Linked DNA regions of Homo sapiens: all the other regions are linked to region 2. Evidence: promoter capture Hi-C in 16 types of primary human blood cells and fetal thymus (Javierre and others, 2016). All regions are on one chromosome and are shown on one strand. Each heading gives the region's core, a stretch centred on a gene start or on the middle of the fragment in contact. The rest is flanking DNA. Distances are from core to core; before and after follow the strand shown. Region 1 overlaps LOC124905236 (a long non-coding RNA gene). Region 2 holds the start of HTR2C (5-hydroxytryptamine receptor 2C). Region 3 overlaps LOC102724491 (a long non-coding RNA gene). Region 4 has its middle 300 kb from the start of XACT.

Region 1 (4,597 bases), core at 926-3,425, 650 kb after region 2:
CTCCTGGCTGGAGCAGTTCATCCAAGGGATGGCATATGACCCAAGCCAGATCAATCAGATTCTTTTCCTAGGGTTTTATTATACTAAAGTAGCAATTGAAAAATGGTGTCACAAAGTTTAGGACCATGTACTCTGGAGTGAAACTTCCTGGGTTCAAATATAATTTCCACTACTTAATGGCTGTGTAAGCTTAGATAAGCTATTAAACTTTTCTGTACCTCAGTTTTCTTATTTGTAAAACAGGGAGATCACAATAATACCTACATCATAGTACTGTTGTGAGGACGAATGTGTTAATACATGGAAGGACTTATAATATTTCCTGTCACATAGTAAATACTTATTAAATATTGTTGGTATTATTGTTGTGTTATATATGCTACTGTCATATTTGTTATACACTAGTGATTATTATGGGATTCTTACGCTGGAATGACGTAAGATTTGAATCACCCCTAGAGCAAGGATTCACAACATTGGAACTCTTAAAATTCAGGTCAAGATAATTCTTTGTTGCAGGCGGTTGTCCCAAACATCGTAGGATATTTAGCAGCATTCTGTCTCTATCCATTAGATGCCAGTAGCATCTTCCCAGTTATGACAACTGAAAATGTCTCCAGACACGTTCAAATGTTTTCCGAGAGTCAAAATTGCCTTTGGTTGAGAACCACTGTGGCCATTTTACCTTCCAACTGGAAAGAGACCATTTACTACAGGAAGGAATGAAGTCAGCGTGTAAAGAACAACTGAAAAAAGAGATGGGGAAGATGGAGAGAGAATGAGTCCTTAGGGCAACTACATCTTTAGTTCCAGTTTCTGAATCTTCTAAACTCTTCTTGTTCTTGCAGCTTACCTTTTGGTTTTCTTTATCCTTCTATTAAAAATCTTTTTTTTGTGTGTGCTAAATTAATTTGCTTGGGATTCTATTACTTGCAATCAAAAGAAATCTGACTATTGGTGTATACAGCTTATCCTCACTATATATATATATATATATATTCTGTGTCCCCTTAGGAATGTAAACACCATGAGAACACAGGCTTTGTCTGCCACATTTATTGCTGCATTTGCAGCATGTAGAATGGTGACTGACATATAAGAAGTACCAATTAAACATTTGTGGATGAGTCAATGAAGAAACTGTAAGTAGTTGGATGTTTTTATAGCTGAAAATTATGAAAGTGGGTATGTTGTATGTTATACGGGCAATTAAATAGTGTTAGAAGTCTTTTGATTGCAATCATCATTCCAGTGATGGTCGAATAACATGGAATACCATAATCAGGAATTATCACCTTAAAGATTGATTACTTAACATTGATCATGTGGCTGGGCAAGGTGGCTCATGCCTGTAATTCCGGTGCTTTTGGAAAGCTAAGGCAAGAGAATGGCTTGAGGCTAGGAGTTCGAGACCAGCCTAGGCAACATAGTGAGACTCTGTCTCTGTCAAAAAATTAAAACAAATTAGCTGGGAATGGTGGTGTGTGCCTGTGTCTCAGCTGCTCAGGAGGCTGAGGCAGGAGGTTCGCTTGAGCCCAGGAGTTCAAGGCTACAGTGATCTACGACCACATGACTGCACTCCAGCCTGGGTGACAAAGTGAGATACTGTATCTAAAAAATAAATAAGTACATAAAAATAACTTAAAAATAAATAAAAGCATGTTATTTAATGGGTGTATAATATTCTACCTTATGCATCTATCTTAACACTTCCATTATTGGATATTTGCAGTGTTTTTCATTTCTGCAATTAAAAACAATATTCTGGAGAATATCAATATCAATTAATAATAATAATACTGTCGAATAATTGCTTTCAGTACCTTAAGCTATGAAATAAGCAAAATAAGGATTGTAGTAGCTATGGCATACCAAGTAAGTACTATAAAACTCAGTTCTTTGGATGCCATCTAAATGAGTTTACACAAAGTAGAGCTAGAAAGTCTGGGTCACTGATTGACACCATGGCAAGAAGGATGTCTTCTTATATTTAAATGTAAGGTTGAATAGGTTGAAAATGCCACTTTCAGCAAAGGTGGGAAGATCGCTTGTGCCCAGGAGTTTGAGGTTATAGTGAGCTATGATCTCGCCACTGCATTCTAGCCTGGGTTGAGAGAGTAAGACCTTGTCTCTTAAAAAAAAACAAAAAAACGGCCGGGCACAGTGGCTCACGCCTGTAATCCCAGCACTTTGGGAGGCCGAGGTGGGTGGATCACGAAGGTCAGGAGATCAAGACCATCCTGGCTAACATGGTGAAACCCCATCTCTACTAAAAATACAAAAAAATTGTCCGGGCGTGGTGGCGGGTGCCTGTAGTCCCAGCTACTGGGGAGGCTGAGGCAGGAGAATGGCGTGAACCCGGGAGGCGGAGCTTGCAGTGAGCTGAGATCGCGCCACTGCGCTCCAGCCTGGGCGACAGAGCGAGACTCCGTCTCAAAAAAAAAAAAACAGAAAAGAAAAAGAAAACATTGGTCATCTTTAACAAAAGCTACACCACAGGGTCTACTTGTCTTCAGGAACATAAGAAATAAATTTTTGTTATTGAAATGAATGGTGTTTAAGGTAGGCAATTGTTAGAAATGATGTATAAGACCCACTTGCTCCTGCATGAAGGAGGTTTTAGAGTTCAGCAAAAGCTAGGAGTCTAGAGCCACGTTGGTCTTATGTACCTAAATTTCTCAGTCTTCTGCTGCCCAGTCTGACTGTAGAGCACCCTAGTCCTACCAGTGACTCCTACATTGCGCCTTCTTGAAAATGTGCTTTTCATGTAAAGTACTAGTCTTTGGGTTTAGGTCAGAGAGTGGGATCTCCCAGAGCTATCGAATAGATTATATAGTTTTTTTTTTTTTTTGCCTCCTTTCTAATGAACATTTGTGCATTGTATGTAATTTAACTTGATACTTTATTTTGTTGTAACTACTATCTAATAGCCAAGATTTGGGAGAGAGAACATGTAGTTTTCACATATCTTTTACCACCAGATGCTACAATATTTACAAAAACAAAACAAAACAAAACACAACTTGGCATTTGCTGTATTATCCAAATTGTTTTCACTCATCTGCAACACATAGAAATGGCTTAAAAAGAAAGGTAGAATAGCTTTAGCTTTATTCTGAGTTGGTGAAGAGCCACTAAAGAGTTTAAAAGATGTGAGTGAGTGACATCATAAGTTTTGAATTTTAGATGTCATTCTTGTAACCGTGTGGACAAAGGACCTAAGGAGGAGAAGAGACCGAAGGCTGGGAGATTAGTTAGAAAGGTTTTAATTTGGGTAAGAAACAAAACAGGCAGTGATTGCAGGAGAGAAAAGGAGGGGACAGATTATAAAAGTATACACAGTATTTAGAATAGGTAAGTGATTAAATAGGTTAAAGAAGGTACAGAAAAAGGAGAAATCATAGATGCCTCCTAGGTTTCTAGCTTGTATAATGGGGCATGATGGTGGGATCAAATGCAATAAATAGGGAATAGAAGAGGAAGTGCAGGCATTTGTATTTATTTCTTGAGTTTTTGTTTGTTTTGTTTTCTCTTATTTGCTTCCTTATTCTGTCAGCTTCCTTTATTTGCCAAATTCCATTTTAACACCCTGACTTCCTGACTGGCTTCTCTGTAGCTATGGTAAATGTTTACTTTTCAGTCCCCTTTGAGCTATGTCTACTCATACATCATTTTGACAATAAACAAAATAAAACAATAGTTAAATTCAACTAAAAGTGGCTGTTGAAAAGAACAACATTGAAATAAAACAACGTTGAATTGCAACAATTTGTCGGTGACTCATTAGCACCATCAACATTAAAGTCAACAAATATTTGAATGCCAACTCAATGCCAAGCACTGTCCTGGGCTCTTTAGAAACAAAGACCCAAAGCAGTTCAATAAAGTGGAGAGAGTGGTGATTTTGGAGTTATAACTGGATTGGATTTCTCCTTCCATTACCTACTGGGTTTGTGACCTTGAGCTAGTGGTTAGCTCCTCAGGGTCTCATTTATTTCCATTTGTAAAATGAGGAAGAATGCATAATAGAGATATCGTTCAGCTGTCATCTTAAGTGAGATAAAAAATCCAACTTAGCCCAGTAGCTGACATGTTGTAAGCACCTGATAAATGTTAGCTGCTATGGAAATATACTCATAACTGTACTCTCAAGAAGCTTACAGTCTATTACATATGTTTTTTTATATAAGCCTCTTACATCATTTTTATGATTAATTCAGAGAATAGCATAGCATTGGATCATATTCTTATCACAGAGAGGGCATAATGATTCAAAATGGTAGTACCTCATAGTCTTAGAGCAGCATGTTTTTCAAAACTCTGAATATAATCAAGTATAACATTTCAAGTCTTTGAGACTTACTTGAATGATCTAATGAAGAAAATGAAAAAACACAAACTCCTTTAGAATAGTAATAAAAACATGATATATTACAAACAGTTAAAGTATGTTAATTGGCTATAATGTAACACCAAGGGTGTGGTGGGGTTTGGATGAGAGGGGAAAGAAAAGAACTTTAAAAAGCAGAATTACATGAGGTAATACAAACCCAGAGTAATGAGAGTTTCTGCCAGATTGGGTTATAATGAACACACT
Region 2 (4,808 bases), core at 762-3,261:
TATTGCACTCATATTTTGATTGTCAGAATGGCTGATATGTACGTAAACTTCTTCATGAAAAATTTAAACTCTGGAGCCCAGATATCTTTTTTCATTACCGTGTATGTGAGGTCGCAATTGTCTGCAAACTGGGGAGCTCAGAGGTTACTCAGTGCGCCGCATTTCCTCACCCCCCGCCCCCCAAATCATCTTAGCTCAACCATATATGAGCGTCCCTCGGTTAGCCTGCCTAAAAGGTATGAGGTAAGGGGCATATGCACTTAGTGGCTCAGCAATCAGAGGCTTCCTTGGATGGGACTTATACTGGTAATATTAATGAAGAAGCTGCGCGGTACTGGCAGTGATTCCAGACCAAATCTTTTAACTGCCGAATGTCACTCGCTGAATTATGAGTTGGGGAGCTCTGTTGCTTAAAATACAGGGTTCTCAAACACAATGCAAGTGTTTGTCACCTCAAGTCGCATACTACCCAACAGGAAGCAAAAGGCAAAGGGCATGGCGCAGAAAAGAAACAGACACACAGACACGTTTTGCAATGACGAACTTTATGTGACATCAGGAACGGCAACCTGTTCTCATGTTTAGCAATTCCGAGGAACGCTGTAAAGACTGCTTGTCAGGTAAAACTGAGTACAGGAATAAGAGGCAGCGCTGGAGACTTTTTCGCAATCCTTTTCAAAATATAGAACAGTAACCAAATGACTTAGATAAGCTAATTAATTATTTAAAAAAAGGTTCACTGGATGCCTTTATCCTCTCCTCTTAAGCTTACGTGATCACCAGCAGCGCTGTTCAAATTCAGCTAACAGCTGTTAGACCAAACACAGATCCGCAGTGTGTTATCTCCCCAGAGTTACGGATGTTCGCTGAGACCCGCCAGAAAAATTAGGGTCGCTTTTCAATGAGAACATAATAAAGGATCCTTGGTTCCCCCTCTGCACACACTGTCCCAAACCTTGCGCCCCCTCCCACTTGCCTGCTGTCGGATTTCTTAAAATTGTAGTCGGTCCTGCAACTCAGTTGCATCTTCCGCAGCCCGACCCTCTACTCAGCGACATTGCGTTCAGTTTCCCTCCTTTCTCTCCTCCCACTCCTCACTTCTTGAGACCCCACCCCCGCCTTCCGTTTCTGTCTCGGCTTCCCCCGCGCCAGGTTCTCTAGACCCCCGCCTCCGCCCAGCGTCTTCATCTCGAGCCCCCGCTCCCAATCCCCTTAGAGACTTCTATGCTCCTTCCGTGGAACCTAAGCTCCTCTCTTCTTCCAGAGACTCAGTCTCCTCGCGATTTGCGCGTTCAGAGTCCCTCCCCCCAACCTCCGCTAGGGCCAGTGCGGTCCTGCAGGCTGCAGCCATCCGGGACCTGTCCCCGCTCCCCACCCCATCCCCCGCCTAAATCGTTGGGGTCTCGGCTAGCAATGCCGCCCGGGGCTCCAACTTACCACTAGCGTCCGGGAGGAAGACCAGGCAGCGGTCGCCGCGGCGGCAGCTAGACGAGAAACGGACTCGGCTGCAATCGCCCAGCGGAGCCCGCGGCAGTCGGTGCGCTGAGCTGCGCTGCGCTGCGCGCCGCAACCTCGCGCCTCGGCGGAGGGAGAGGAATGGAGGGAGCTCGGCGCGATAGGAAGCGCCGGCGAGTCGACCTCCTTTGGGTGACCGTGCGCCCCCCGGCTAGGTTTGGCTCTTTTCGCTCCGCTATCTTACTCTAGCTTAGTAACTGACCACCTCCAGCATCTCTGCACTAATCGCGTCTTCTTTCTTCTTCGTTGGCCCCTAACTAACTACACTACTCTAAACGGACGAAGGCCATCACACGAGCGCCACGACGATCGCGACGACTCCGACGACAACGATGTACAGACAGAAGAAGAGTTCATATGCAATCGGCAGGTAAGGGGCAAGGCAGGCCAATGGAGCAGCCAAGGCTAGCAATCTAGCCGCTCCAAAGGCAGTATCGGGAAGATCGGTGCATCTGAGGAAGGAAGCGTCCTCGGCAAGCACCAGAGCGCCTACCTCGCGCGGGTGAATCTGCACCACGCTCTTGGGCCAAAAGCGGGATGAGGGGAGGAGCCAAGAGCAGCCAATCAGCACTCAGCATTACGTGGCCCCCGGGCCTGTTTGGACCGGTCTCTTAGTGCATCTGGAGCCTGCTGGCAGGGGGCGCGAGACCCCATGGTGGAGATGGGGGTGGGGGTGATGATTAATCTGATTCACAAGGCCTAGAGAGTAGGGGGAACCAGGATCAGCCATGGCACCGGATAGAGAGAGAGGGAAGGCTTTCTCAAGAATGTACCCTCAAAGATTCATAGCATACCCCTCCCCAAACACACACACACACACACACACACACCCCTGTACATTTCATTTCAACAAACAGCATTCTCAAGTCTTGCAAATTTCATCAAGCTTTGAAACTCCCTTCAAGGGTCTCTGTTCCGACTCTTGCCCATTCCTCCAACAGTAGCAACTGAGGCACTCACAGGGTCAAACATTTGGTGAGTGCGCAAAGGCCACAATCCTGTTATAAGGCCCACTTCCCCATCCTTGTCTCCCCATCCTTTCCCTAACCCCAAAGGAGAAAGAAAAGCTCTTGGCCTTCGAGCCCCGGGAAGGCACAGTTTAGTTCCTTTCTTGACCCCACAGGCCTCATTAGAAAGACACCTTGAGGGCAGCTCTTACGGGTTTCCAAGGGGGTGAACATATCTCTCTGGCACAGGGCCTTGGGCCCACAGCCAGTCGGTTGCCCAGTCGTTGTGGGGGAGGGAGGGGTGCTGTCAATGCAAGGTCAAGGCAGCAAGAGGTGAACCACAAAGGCTCTCTTTTGGCAACTGCTGGGATGCCGAGCTGCAACCGGTCAGGCAGAGCTCTAACCGGTCAGGCAGAGCTCTTTTTCACAGGCTCCCAGGCGCAACCGGGCAGGTGCCTGCGGTGTCCTGGCGGCAGCGCAGAGAAGGGTGAACGGGGCCCCCTTGGCTCAGAGGCACCAAAACCAAGCTGAGTAATGGAGATGATCCCACGGAGAATGGGGACAGAAGCAGATCTCTCCTAAGAGGGAACGAAGGGGCGAGCGGGGGTGGTGGTCTCGGGTCGCGGCCGAGGTTTCTCGGCCCTGTACCGAGGACCGGGGTGGGAAAAGTGGAGATTGGCTCCCCGCCTGTCGGAGGTAGCTGGACCGAAGCAAAAGATCGAGCCTCCGGTTTGGCTACTTAGGACCGGACGGCAGCGCAGCGAGTGTATAGAAGAGGCTACAGAGAGGCCGTACAGAGAGAGGCTTGGAGGACCTAACCCGGCAGAACGCAAAAGGGGTGGGAGCTGCCGGCTATTCTGAAGGCCGAAGTTTGCCTCAGTAGCCCCAAAAGTTAGAGATGGAGAAGGAAGTGGAAGCAATGATAAGGGTCAGGCCCCTTCCTTATTCTGGATGCCCTAGGAACAGTCATTTCTCTCTGTGCCTCTGTTTCCATATTTGTGAAAGGAGCTGTCCAGTCTATTCCAAAAGGGGCATTTTGGGAATCCTCTGATTCCCTCCATCGCCACTGAATTCAGGCTTTGAAATTTAATTTGGCAGTGAACATACTGTCGGCACCCAAGTTCTGTTTCGAAAAGCAAAAACCCATCGCAGTTTTCTTGAAGCATCTGTTGAATGCTGCTGTATGATGCCGCACAGGTGGCTGCGACAGCGCTGCCAAGTCCACCGACTGCACAACGCTCGCATCTTTAGAAATGCTTTGGTAGCGAACAGTAATTTATAAATATGGAAGAGAAAACGTATGTCTTCTCTTTAAATAATTAAGCACTCATCTTTAAAAACTCCCCAAGTGTCCCCTTACTCTATGAATGTGGAATGCTTAGTCTTGCCTTTTCTGGCGGGACTCGTATTTATTTTGTCAGAGGCTGAGACATTTATATTACTTCAAAAAATGTAAATATAAATCCCTGTGATATTTTTGCTAAGCCAAAATGGATCTGCCGAGCAGCGAGTGGAAGTTAGCATCCGCCAAAACCTGTTCTCGCTCCCCGGCTCCCGGGGGAACCGGCTTGGAGAAATTGACCATGATAATAGCAATTATGAGGATGAGGATGATGGTAATAATAGTTTTTATTATTATATATTTCGCTCTAAAGGCTGTTCTCTCCTTCTCCTTGTGAAAGGCAAAAGTGCCGAGAGCGACCAGGGGTGAAACCCACGTGGTCGTTGGGAAGGTTCCCGCAGCAGCAGAGAGAAAGTTTGCTAGCCACGCGGCTTGCTGAAGCACGTCTGGGCTTCGGAGGTCGGGTAGAAACAAGCAGGCACGTTAGCCTTTGAGCGGCGCTCGCCGAGCGGCCCAGAGCCTGTAAGACTGAGCCGGAGCGGTCCGCGGCGAGGCTCGGGGTACCGGGTTCCGCCGGGACCGAAGGCTCTGCTTTCTTGGCATTTGCGGCGCGTACTGCCTCTTCAGGTTCTCTAGGCTGCGGCTCGGCAGAGCGCTGCAAGGTCCGACGGACTTTGGAGATTTTGGCAACACCAGACCAGAGAATTTAGTGTAAGGAGAAATTTAGGGCGCACTTTAGGACTGGGGAAGCAAACTCAAAACAAGCACATGCTGGCGCTTTCTGTCGCTCTGTCATTGCCAGAGAGGTTTTCTGGAACCCCTGCCTAACGAGGCCTGGGGAGTCAGCCCAGGGTTTTCACTGCTTTCCTTTCCGTTCCTCAGGTGTATGGAAATTGTCCCTGGAAAGAGGAGTTATTTACAGTGAATTCCTCAGGTTTGATTAAAATCCCCAGTGCCCCCCGGAACACGGTTTCCAAATATTTCCCGGTTTCTAAGGCTGTGGA
Region 3 (4,792 bases), core at 159-2,658, 610 kb after region 2:
TAAATCTGCTCCTGTCTTTATCCGTGATGGTCTTGTCTTTGTCCCGTACCTGTGAAGATAAGCTGTTAATTACCTTGTCAGCATGAAATTCAACAGAACTGTTTTAGGGTAAATATCTTGCGACCTATGAGGAAGTTCCTTGTGAGCAAATTGTGAGGGAGGCTTCCTGGGGAAGTATGTGGCCTTTAATTTTTGTAGGAATAAAAATGGGAGACAATTTTCTATGACTCAATTCCCAAGCTTGACTTTTCCCTTTGGCTTAGTGTGTTTGGGGTCCCAAGATTTTATTTTCCTTTCATAATCCCAAATTCATATACTGATCTCCTAACCCCTATACGGGGGAAGGAAAACATTCCCTTCACTCTCTGAAGATTCACTGAAATATCAACTGACAAAAGGCAGATTAGCCAGGTACAGTGGGCATGCTTATAGTCCCAGCTACTCCAGAGACCAAGGCAGGAGAATCACTTGTGTCCAGTAACAGGCTGTAGTGCACTATGCTGATAGAGTGTCCACACTGTTTGCCATCAATATCGTAATTGCCAGGGAGTAGGGGACCATCAAGTCACCTAGGGAGGGATGAACTGGCCCAGGTTGTAAGTGGAGCAGATGAAAACTCCCTTGCTAATCAGTGGTGAGATGGTACCCATGAATAGCCACTGTAATTGAGCCTGGGGAACATAGTGAGACCGTGTCTTTATAAATAAAATTTTTAGAAAGGCATATTAATAGGAAGGAAGGCATACAAATTTATTAACATGTACATGGAAGAATCACAAAGTAATTACACCAACTCTGCAATGGGATACAGAAGCTTAAACACCATCTTGAGGTTAGAGAAAAAAATAGGGGCTCAGAACAGTTATGTTGGTAAATCAGGTGATGGTGGCAAGACAGGTTATGGGAAGGGGAGAAGAAGAGGTCTGGCTAGCAAAGGTGGTCTTGTTATGTAGATGAAACCTCACTGTTAGCAGCCCTCAGGGAGAATACGTTTTACATGTTTTTTTCAGACCTTTAAAAGTGTCAGGATCTCAGTTAATCTATCCTAGATCCGGACAAAGAAAGGTCTGCCTGCATCAATGCAGAAATGCAACTAGACTTAAATGCTAAATGGTCACACTTGTTCCATCATAGACCTAACTTCTAATTCAGTAATAGAGTCCTTTCCATAGGCAAGTAGTAGTAAATTTATACAAAGGCCATCCATAGCTTTTAAGGTGGAGCTACAAAGTAGATACTTACATGATACAATTGTTTTTTAAGAGTCTAACGTTGATTCAGCTCTGAAATCCTCATGTTTGTTCTTAAGCGTGAAGTGGGCCATAATGCAGCACTCATAAAGAATTCTGACCTGTTGCAATGGATGTCATCTTGAGGAATGCAACTATGAAAAAAGTGCATCATCATCATAAGATATTGCCTATTATGACTAAAGTGCAATTCCATTTCTCACTGTTTCTTAAAGGGGACCATATTAAAATTTTGAGTGTGACAAGTCTTTGTTATGTGGGACTTTTTGGTGTCTCTGACTAATAGTCACTAGTTGCTAATATGGTATCCCAGTCATTGGACAATGAAAAATATCACCCATATGTGCAGGATAATACTCTTCTTTGAAAATTACTGTTGCAGCAATAGCCAAGAGTAATGGTATTTAAATGGCATTGTTTTCATGGGTAACTACTAAAAATTATAGAGAAATATACACAGTTTCAAACAGTGTACATTTAGTCTGTCAACTCCTGGCCACATAGTAAAGCCCTTCATAAGTAACCAAGAGCTTGAGATTTTTATATCATTGTACCTTTCATGCAGCTGAGAGAGGCATTATTGGTATAAGTAACTCCCCAAAGATCCCAAGAAGTGTTTCTGTGACACTTGTGCTTTTTACATTTTACATTTGAATATCTGTCTTAGAGTAATTTAAATGTAATTTGAAGTACAACAATGGCCCTATCAAAGATCATTCTCAGGCCAAGTTTCCTTGGATTAAGCAAGCTTTAATGAATGCTATTTTCTTGTACTCCATTTAACCAGTGGTAAACTTGGAACAGCTCAATAAACTACTGAAAGGGCAAGAGATGCAGAACCTAAGCTGAAAAATCTGTTTGCTATAGGCAAGATAGTGTTTCTTTCATGTTGCTCCAAATGCCAAGGTATTCAGACTCTGGAATAGACAGATTTTTAAAACCCTAATTTTTAAATCTGCAGGCATCACTTGAAAAATATAATGACCATTCCCACTGCTAATTATTTAGGAAATTAGTATTATAAAATGTGAGATTGGAACACCTCACTCAGAGACCAAACCTGAGAGTTACTCTTGGGTTACATTCAAAGATACTAAATTGAAATTTCCTTGGAAAAGACACAAACTGAAATAAATCTGAGAATGGCGATCTTTCTAACTTTCTGTGATCCTCCATGTCAGACCCATCTGGTCTGAAGAATGCTGACTGTGTAACAACTGTATTTGTAATATGTATCATTCAAACTTCAGTAGACTATGATAAACATTCTGTAACTGTCTATATCATTTGAAATAGAAGTATCTAGTATGCCACAGGGCCTTGCAATAAAATTAGCCTTGCTGGCTAATATCCAGAGAGGAAGAATAAATGTGTATGCGTACTGCGGGGAGGGAGCGAAATGAGAACTATCACTACCAAAATTCTCATGGAATTATATTTCCCAAAGACATGCTATCTATGGAGGCAGCAAAACCTTTCTGAAAAATAAAAATTAAATGAGGCTATACTTTTGATATAACAGACAGTTTTGTTTATATCCCCAAATATTCAACTATTGAAATGTTCCCTTCACACTGTGCAAAGATGATTTATTAGAAGAATGTATTACTATATTGTAGAAGACATAATGTTCTGCAGCTATGAACAAAAAGTCAAAGCTGTCAAAGGTCCTAATAAAAGTAGCTTTACAAAAACCTCTCCTTCTGAAAAGCAATCGGAACATTGGAAAAAATCATCAAAACAAACCTTTCTAAAACTCTGGAAATTAATCAAAGGCTTGCAACATTGCAAGGAGTATTTCTCCAAGAAAAACAGCTAAACTTCTGTAAGAACTGCAATCTCTGTGATGTGTTAGCTCGCTCTATTACTATTCTTCACTCCCTAGATTTGTGAGAGTCTTGAAATCAACAGCCTCACTACTGCAGTAGTCATGAAAACTTGCATTTTAGCAACCACTAGAGGAAGCAGAAACAGGCATGTTCTTCCACAAAACCCATTCCCTGAGAAATGTGACTATTTGAAATGTCTGGAAACTCCCTAAATAGCTCTATTCTCAGGGTTGTCTTTAATGGACCTGAATCAGAGCTCACTCTGTACAAATAAGCCTATACCTAAAAAATTTTCTCACAAAAAGTGGTAGTTGTTTAACACTGCAGCTACCTGAAGCAATTAACAAGAGGTTGACTAAAAACTTAAAAGGAAAAACTGGTGAATGAGACATTCATAACAATCTTTGAAAATGTCAACATATTTCTGAGAATCTAGAAGGCCACACAGGTGTGCAAGGCTGTAGGCTCAAGAAAGTCCTCAGAATGCCCTATTTGCTCAAGTCTAACTAATCTTTTTCTTTTCTTTTCTTTCTTTCTTTCTTTCTTTTCTTTTTTTTTTTTTTTTGAGACAGAGTCTTGCACTGTTGCTCAGGCTGGAGTGCAGTGGCACGGTCTTGGCTCACTGCAACCTCAGCCTCCCAGGTTCAAGTGATTCTCCTGCCTCAGCCTCCTGAGTAGCTGGGATTACAGGTACCCACCACCACACCCAGCTAATTTAAGTCTGACTAATCTTAAGCCTCTGAAGAAGTTGAAAGTAAGGATAACAGAGTTGTTAATTACAGGAATATTTGAGGCATGTCTAAAAACTATACCAAATCCTTGGCAGTGGCTGGGAGAATTACTGGTTCATGGCATTTAAGGACACCTCTGTCTTGCTAATCACTAACCTAACCAAGGAGACACTTTAGTGGCTACATATGTCAAAGAAAACAGACTTTACAGTATCAGTCCAAGAAAGTCAGCAAACGAGGAACAATAACAATATAAACAACAACAACAAAACAGCTAACAGCAAGACCAACAAACCCTGGGAGAAGAAGTTCTGATTTCAAGATTTACAATGTTATATTAAAATGTCAAGTATTTTAAAGAAAAAGTAGACATACAAAGAAACAGGAATGAATGGCCCATACAAAGAAAAAAAAAAAAGAAAGTCAATAGAAAATGTCATGGTGGAAGCCAAGATGTCAGATTTATTATATAAAGATTTTAAATAGGCAATTATAAATATGTTCAAGTAACTAAAAAACATCTTGTCTAAAAAAATAAAGGAGTGTATGGCAATGATTTCTCACTAAAGAGAGAGTGTCAACAAAGAGATAGACATTATTTTTTAAAAGCACCAAATAGTAACTCAGTAGTTTAAAAATCACAATAACTGAAATGAGAAATTCACTAGAGGAGTTCTATAGCAGATTGCAACTGTCAAGGAAACAATAAGAAAATTTGAATATAGTTCATTGTGATTATAGTAAAGAACAGAAAGAAGAAATAATAAAGAAAATTAATGTAGTCTCAAAGATATGTGAGACACTGAAGTCCCTGAGGGAGAAGAGAAAGCTTCGAAGAACAGAAAGAATATTTGAAGACATAATTTCTAAAGGCTAACACAATTTGATGAAAAAACATGAATTTGCACATTCAAATAGCAAAACAATCTTCCAGTAGGATAATCTCAAAGTAGTCTACACCCAGACACATCATAGACAAAGT
Region 4 (4,677 bases), core at 1,591-4,090, 670 kb after region 2:
AAGAGAGAGCTCTGAAAATTCCAAAACTGAATCAAGGTCTGAACTTAGGAGGTTTGAGGTTTCCTACTGCCAGTGGCCCACCAATCAAGCATAACCTAAATCCTGGCTAAATCCTAAGTCATTCCATGCCAGATAGATCATGCTAAAATGCAATCATGGATTATAGTTGACTCTCTGAGGTAAGAGTTATAAGATAACAATGAGATTCCAACATCAAAAACCTAATTCGTCTCAGCTTCTCATACTAAAACAGCTAGGGTGGAGGAGCAAAATCGTCTTAAAGTAGCATTACCCATTTTCCTTGTTTTGATATTATACTTAAGCAAAATGTTACCATTGAGGAAAACTGGATGAATGGTGCATGGGAGCTCCCTGTACATTTTTTTTTTCAACTTCCCGTAACTCATAATTATCTCGAGATAAAAATTTTAAAAGATAGCATCACACATCAAAATCTTGTACTATTTGGTACTTAATTCATTTTTCTTTTTTTAAAGTGTAGCTTTATTGGACTGAGATTGGAATTTAATATTTAAAGACCTACGACAATAAATAAATAAATAAAGGAGTCACTTCCCAAAATGAAAGATAAACTTTGAAACTCAATGAGGCTGGGCGTGGTGGCTCACACCTATAATCCCAGCACTTTGGGAGGCTGAGGTGGGCAGATCGCCTGAGGTCAGGAGTTTGAGATCAGTCTGGCCAAAAGTAGTGAAACCCTGTTTCTACTAAAAATACAAAAATTAGCCAGGCGTGGTGGCGTGCGCCTGTAATCCCAGCTACTCAGGAGGCTGAGGCAAGAGAATTGCTTGAACCTGAGAGGCGGAGGTTGCAGTGAGCCGAGATCACCCCACCACACTCCAGTGTGGCGACAGAATGAGACTCTGTCTCCAAAAAATAATAATAATAATAATAAAATAAAAGCAACATCAGAGTAAGGAGGCTCCCCACCACTAGGCCTAGCTGGGCACTAGTTTGCATGCACTCAAGTCTATAGGCACAGATCAGAGTCCCAGTAAAAAAGTGATGGGTGGCATGGCATATTATTACTGTGGGTTGGTATTGTTCCTCAGGCATTGTCTTTCTTTACCTTATGTTTCAGGCCCAAACACTATTTGTGCAAGAAAATATCAGCCAGGGTGTCCATGGGAAACCCTTTTTCTAGTCTACTGCAATCAATACTCTTGTGAGTTAGGCCCTTGCAACTGAAGAGAAAGCTCCATCGATTATGGTTAGCTTTAATCTGTTCTGCAAGGGGGTTCAGATATTCCTGGGACCTACACAACACTGTTAAAATAGTGCCCTATTGAGAACAGCATTGCTCAAGCTATGACAATGCTACACACTAAGTAGGCAGGACCCTTGTGACAACTCAAGTATGAAACTGGAGTGCCCTATTTACCTATGCTTGGTCCTGCTGTTTTCTTCTCTTTGTTTCATTTACCTGTATTTATTCATGATCCTCTGCCTCCAGACTGCTTTCTTGAAAATATATCCTTACCATTATCTCCATTATAACTCATCTCTTTATTATCATTCTCCATCATAATCTTAAGTTCCTTCACACGGGCCCCCAAATATCCAAAGATCCATACTGTGGTATTCCACCCTGATTATCCTGATGTGGACATTAACCTCATGGTTAGGTCCTTTCTCTCTATTTTCAGCCCATGAAAATTTACCCATTCTGTGTCTCATACAAATGGAGTTCAATTACGGTATGTTACACTGAAAGAATCTGATCAACTAATATATTAAACTCTAAATTAATTTTTTGCACCAATGATTATTGAGAACCTACTATATGCAAGGCATATTCTAGGCAATGAGGTTATAAAGATTAATAAAATAAATTCTTTGCTCTCAAGGAACTTACATGATAGTGGGGGAGACAGAACATAAACAAATAAACAAGCATGTAATACAATGTCTAATAGTGGAATTCCCTATGGAAAAAATATAAAATAAAGCAGGATAAAAGAATATAGAGGTTATTTTATTTTCTAATTTGGTCTTGAGGTCTTTCTTAGGAGAGTGGCTATAAACTCTAGCCTTGCCCTGATGGGGTTCCAGGGGATTTGGTCATGGTTATTTACAGTGTGCCTTTCACAGGATATTTCTTTATCCTGACTGACAGCTAATGCCTAAGTGTCTGACCTGTGACCGAGTGTCCCTCTCACAGAAAACTTGTTTATACTGGCAGATGCCCTTGTGGCTCTTGTCTGACCTGTGTCTAGTTTATTCTTCCAAGATAGCCACTCTCTAGGAGAGCTCTGACTGGGAGAGAAGTTAGGTGTGGGTGTGTGGGTCAGGTAAGACACAGAGGAGACAGCACAACAAAACAATGAAAAGACAGAGGCAGTGCATCAGTTACAGGTCCACAAGAGAAGAGAGGTATTGATGAAGGTCGACTGGAAGGTAAAGAGGGCACTGTGCTCAACCAGGAAATATGGAGCCAGTTAGAGGAGAACCCGTTGATGCAGGATTTTTCTTGTTGGTCACTTTGCAAGCCAGGGACCCCCAGGTGGTGATGCCCCACCTGGGCCTCTCTCGGCCATGCTGGCATGCCCCAGCTCGCCTGCGTTATAGCTTGTACTTGCATTTGGAGTTCCTGAGCTCTTTTACCATGCCCAAGAAGAATGAGGATATGTGGGACATTGGAGAGTGAGGAGGGCGGAGAATTTTATTGAGCAATGAAAATGGCTTTCAATGGAGAGGGGAGGGCAGGGGAGGGGAGGGGAGGGGAGGGGAGGTGGGGAGGGCAATGGTTCCCCCATGTGGCTGGGTCTGGGGCCCTTTATGGACTCAGAATGGGGAAAGTGTGCTGATTAGTTTTGAGTATGCAAAAAAGGTTAAAGCGAAGACAGCACACAAAGGTGGGCATGACAGTGTAGAAAAACCAATAGGAAAGGGTAGGTATATGTAAAATAGGCGAAAGGTGGGGACCAATCAGAGGAAAGCATGCCAAACAGGAAGACAAGTTCTCAATTCAGTCTGACGATTTAATCTGTAGCTTGGCTTTCAGGCTATAAACTGTCTTCGACTTGGAGATGGTGTTTTGCTAGGGACCCGCCCCTATCTGTCTAGGCATTTGTCTGCCTCTATCACTGTGGGCAGAGGCCTTTATTGGGGTCAAGGGTATTACCCTTGCCCTTGGTTTTCTGAAGAGAGTTCTAATTGGTGAGTTTAAAGCAAGCAGGCACAAATTCTGTGGGGTCACAGAGAGATAGTGACTGAGACATAGTCACTGTGGCAGATCCGTGCAGTCTATACGGGATGTGGGATGAGTGGGGTGAGTGCAGTAGGTTGTTATTCTATATGTCCCATAGGGAAGTGGTCACCAGGAGGCAGCTATATAGAACAGATATTTGGATTGATAACACTGGAACTGAGAGGAGGCGGAGAGCTGGAAATTGTCAAGGGCGACTAAGCCCGGCTTCTGGTATGATAAAATCTAACTTATATTCAGAATGGATGCCAAGGCAATATGAAATTGTAAGTATTTACTATAAGAGAATAATCACAAGGAGGGGCTGAGAGGACTCGCTTGAATTGATATTTGAGCAGAGACCTGAATGAAATGAGAGAGGGAGTCATGGGAGGGAAAAAGTTTTAGGTAGAAGGCATAGCAAGTACAAAGATTGAGTGAATAGAAGTAAATTATTGCATTAGTTTTTTGGCTTTCTCTAGGGCCCATACCAATACTTTTGTAAATTTCAGTTTTTATTGTGAATATTCCTTGCAACCTTAATTCCCTGGAGGCCCCACAAGATGGTAGGCTGTAAAAGGTCATAGTAAGAGCAATATTTAATTGTTTTGAAAGTTTCCTTCCTCCCTGTGCCTGCCAGATGCAGATTAATTCTGCATCTAATCCTTACTATTTTCCAAATAACCAGAATCTACAATGGAATACACTATTTTTCTCCCAAAGGGCCTGAGGAATCTTAAATTGACTGGTCAAAGTTCTGCTTTGTTCTGCTCCATTGTATAAAGACACATTGTCTTGACTGTCAGTGACAGTCACATTTAATCAATAAAGATTATTAAGATTGACAAAGTGACAGTCTTGCTCCCTGTGAGTTCCTTTCATACTAATTGGTTTAGCTCTTAAAGATCACAGTCTATCCCTCCCTGCAAAAAGACCACTGCACATGATGTCATTTTTCTTTTCAACTTCTTTTTCAATGTTTTTTTGGTTTTTCTGTTTGTTTGTTTTTTTCCTCCTCTCCATTGATTCTGATGCAAGGATCACCAGCTCTATTTTCTATGAGATACACTATTATGTTGTTAAAGTATCTTATTTGGTCATTCTGTGTCAAAACATCTCCCACAGATTATGATTCTGCAAGGTTCTGCCCTTGGTTACTTGCAATTATGGCTGAATAAAATCCTGGGCAATTACTTCTGGATTTAATTATCATAAGCACGCACATAACACACTTGGTGCAGTCAGGTGTAATACCCAAATAATTCATATCTAAGATTTAGAGTTCTATAAGGGAAACTTGGTTGTAGTAATTAATTTGGATGATCTCTTTAAGCTCCCATAGCATTTTATTTTAAAACAATTGACACCTAGGCCGGGCGTGGTGGCTCATGCCTGTAATCCCAGCACTTTGGGTAGGCTGAGATAGGTGGATCACCGGAGTTCAGGAATTTGAGACCAGCCTGGCCAAC

The links. The method cuts DNA at HindIII sites, captures the fragments that hold promoters and counts their contacts. A CHiCAGO score of 5 or more calls a contact.
Region 1: a contact is called between a fragment that was not itself captured here and the fragment with the promoter of HTR2C in region 2, in 3 of 17 cell types (megakaryocytes, monocytes and M0 macrophages). The highest score is 7.7, in megakaryocytes.
Region 3: a contact is called between a fragment that was not itself captured here and the fragment with the promoter of HTR2C in region 2, in 4 of 17 cell types (monocytes, M0 macrophages, M1 macrophages and 1 more). The highest score is 9.0, in monocytes.
Region 4: a fragment that was not itself captured here is called in contact with the fragment with the promoter of HTR2C in region 2 in 1 of 17 cell types (M0 macrophages); the score reaches 6.0 in M0 macrophages.

The regions. Positions count from the first base shown.
Region 1 is chrX:113,934,738-113,939,334 of GRCh38, reverse strand. LOC124905236 (a long non-coding RNA gene) reads left to right here. Exons shown (of 2, transcript XR_007068366.1): 2 at 1,015-4,597. Among named protein-coding and RNA genes, the nearest start is that of XACT, 320 kb to the right of the region's middle. The HindIII fragment of the contact is 3,967 bases long and covers 192-4,158 here.
Region 2 is chrX:114,581,289-114,586,096 of GRCh38, reverse strand. It overlaps HTR2C (5-hydroxytryptamine receptor 2C), which reads right to left and starts at 2,011. Exons shown (of 6, transcript NM_000868.4): 1 at 1,438-2,011. RefSeq lists an enhancer at 2,012-2,511. The HindIII fragment of the contact is 1,634 bases long and covers 770-2,403 here.
Region 3 is chrX:113,972,248-113,977,039 of GRCh38, reverse strand. It overlaps LOC102724491 (a long non-coding RNA gene), which reads right to left. Exons shown (of 3, transcript XR_430542.4): 2 at 1,243-1,384; 3 at 1-62. It also overlaps the pseudogene RN7SL93P. Among named protein-coding and RNA genes, the nearest start is that of XACT, 360 kb to the right of the region's middle. The HindIII fragment of the contact is 1,184 bases long and covers 817-2,000 here.
Region 4 is chrX:113,913,471-113,918,147 of GRCh38, reverse strand. No RefSeq gene overlaps it. Among named protein-coding and RNA genes, the nearest start is that of XACT, 300 kb to the right of the region's middle. The HindIII fragment of the contact is 7,940 bases long and covers 1-4,677 here.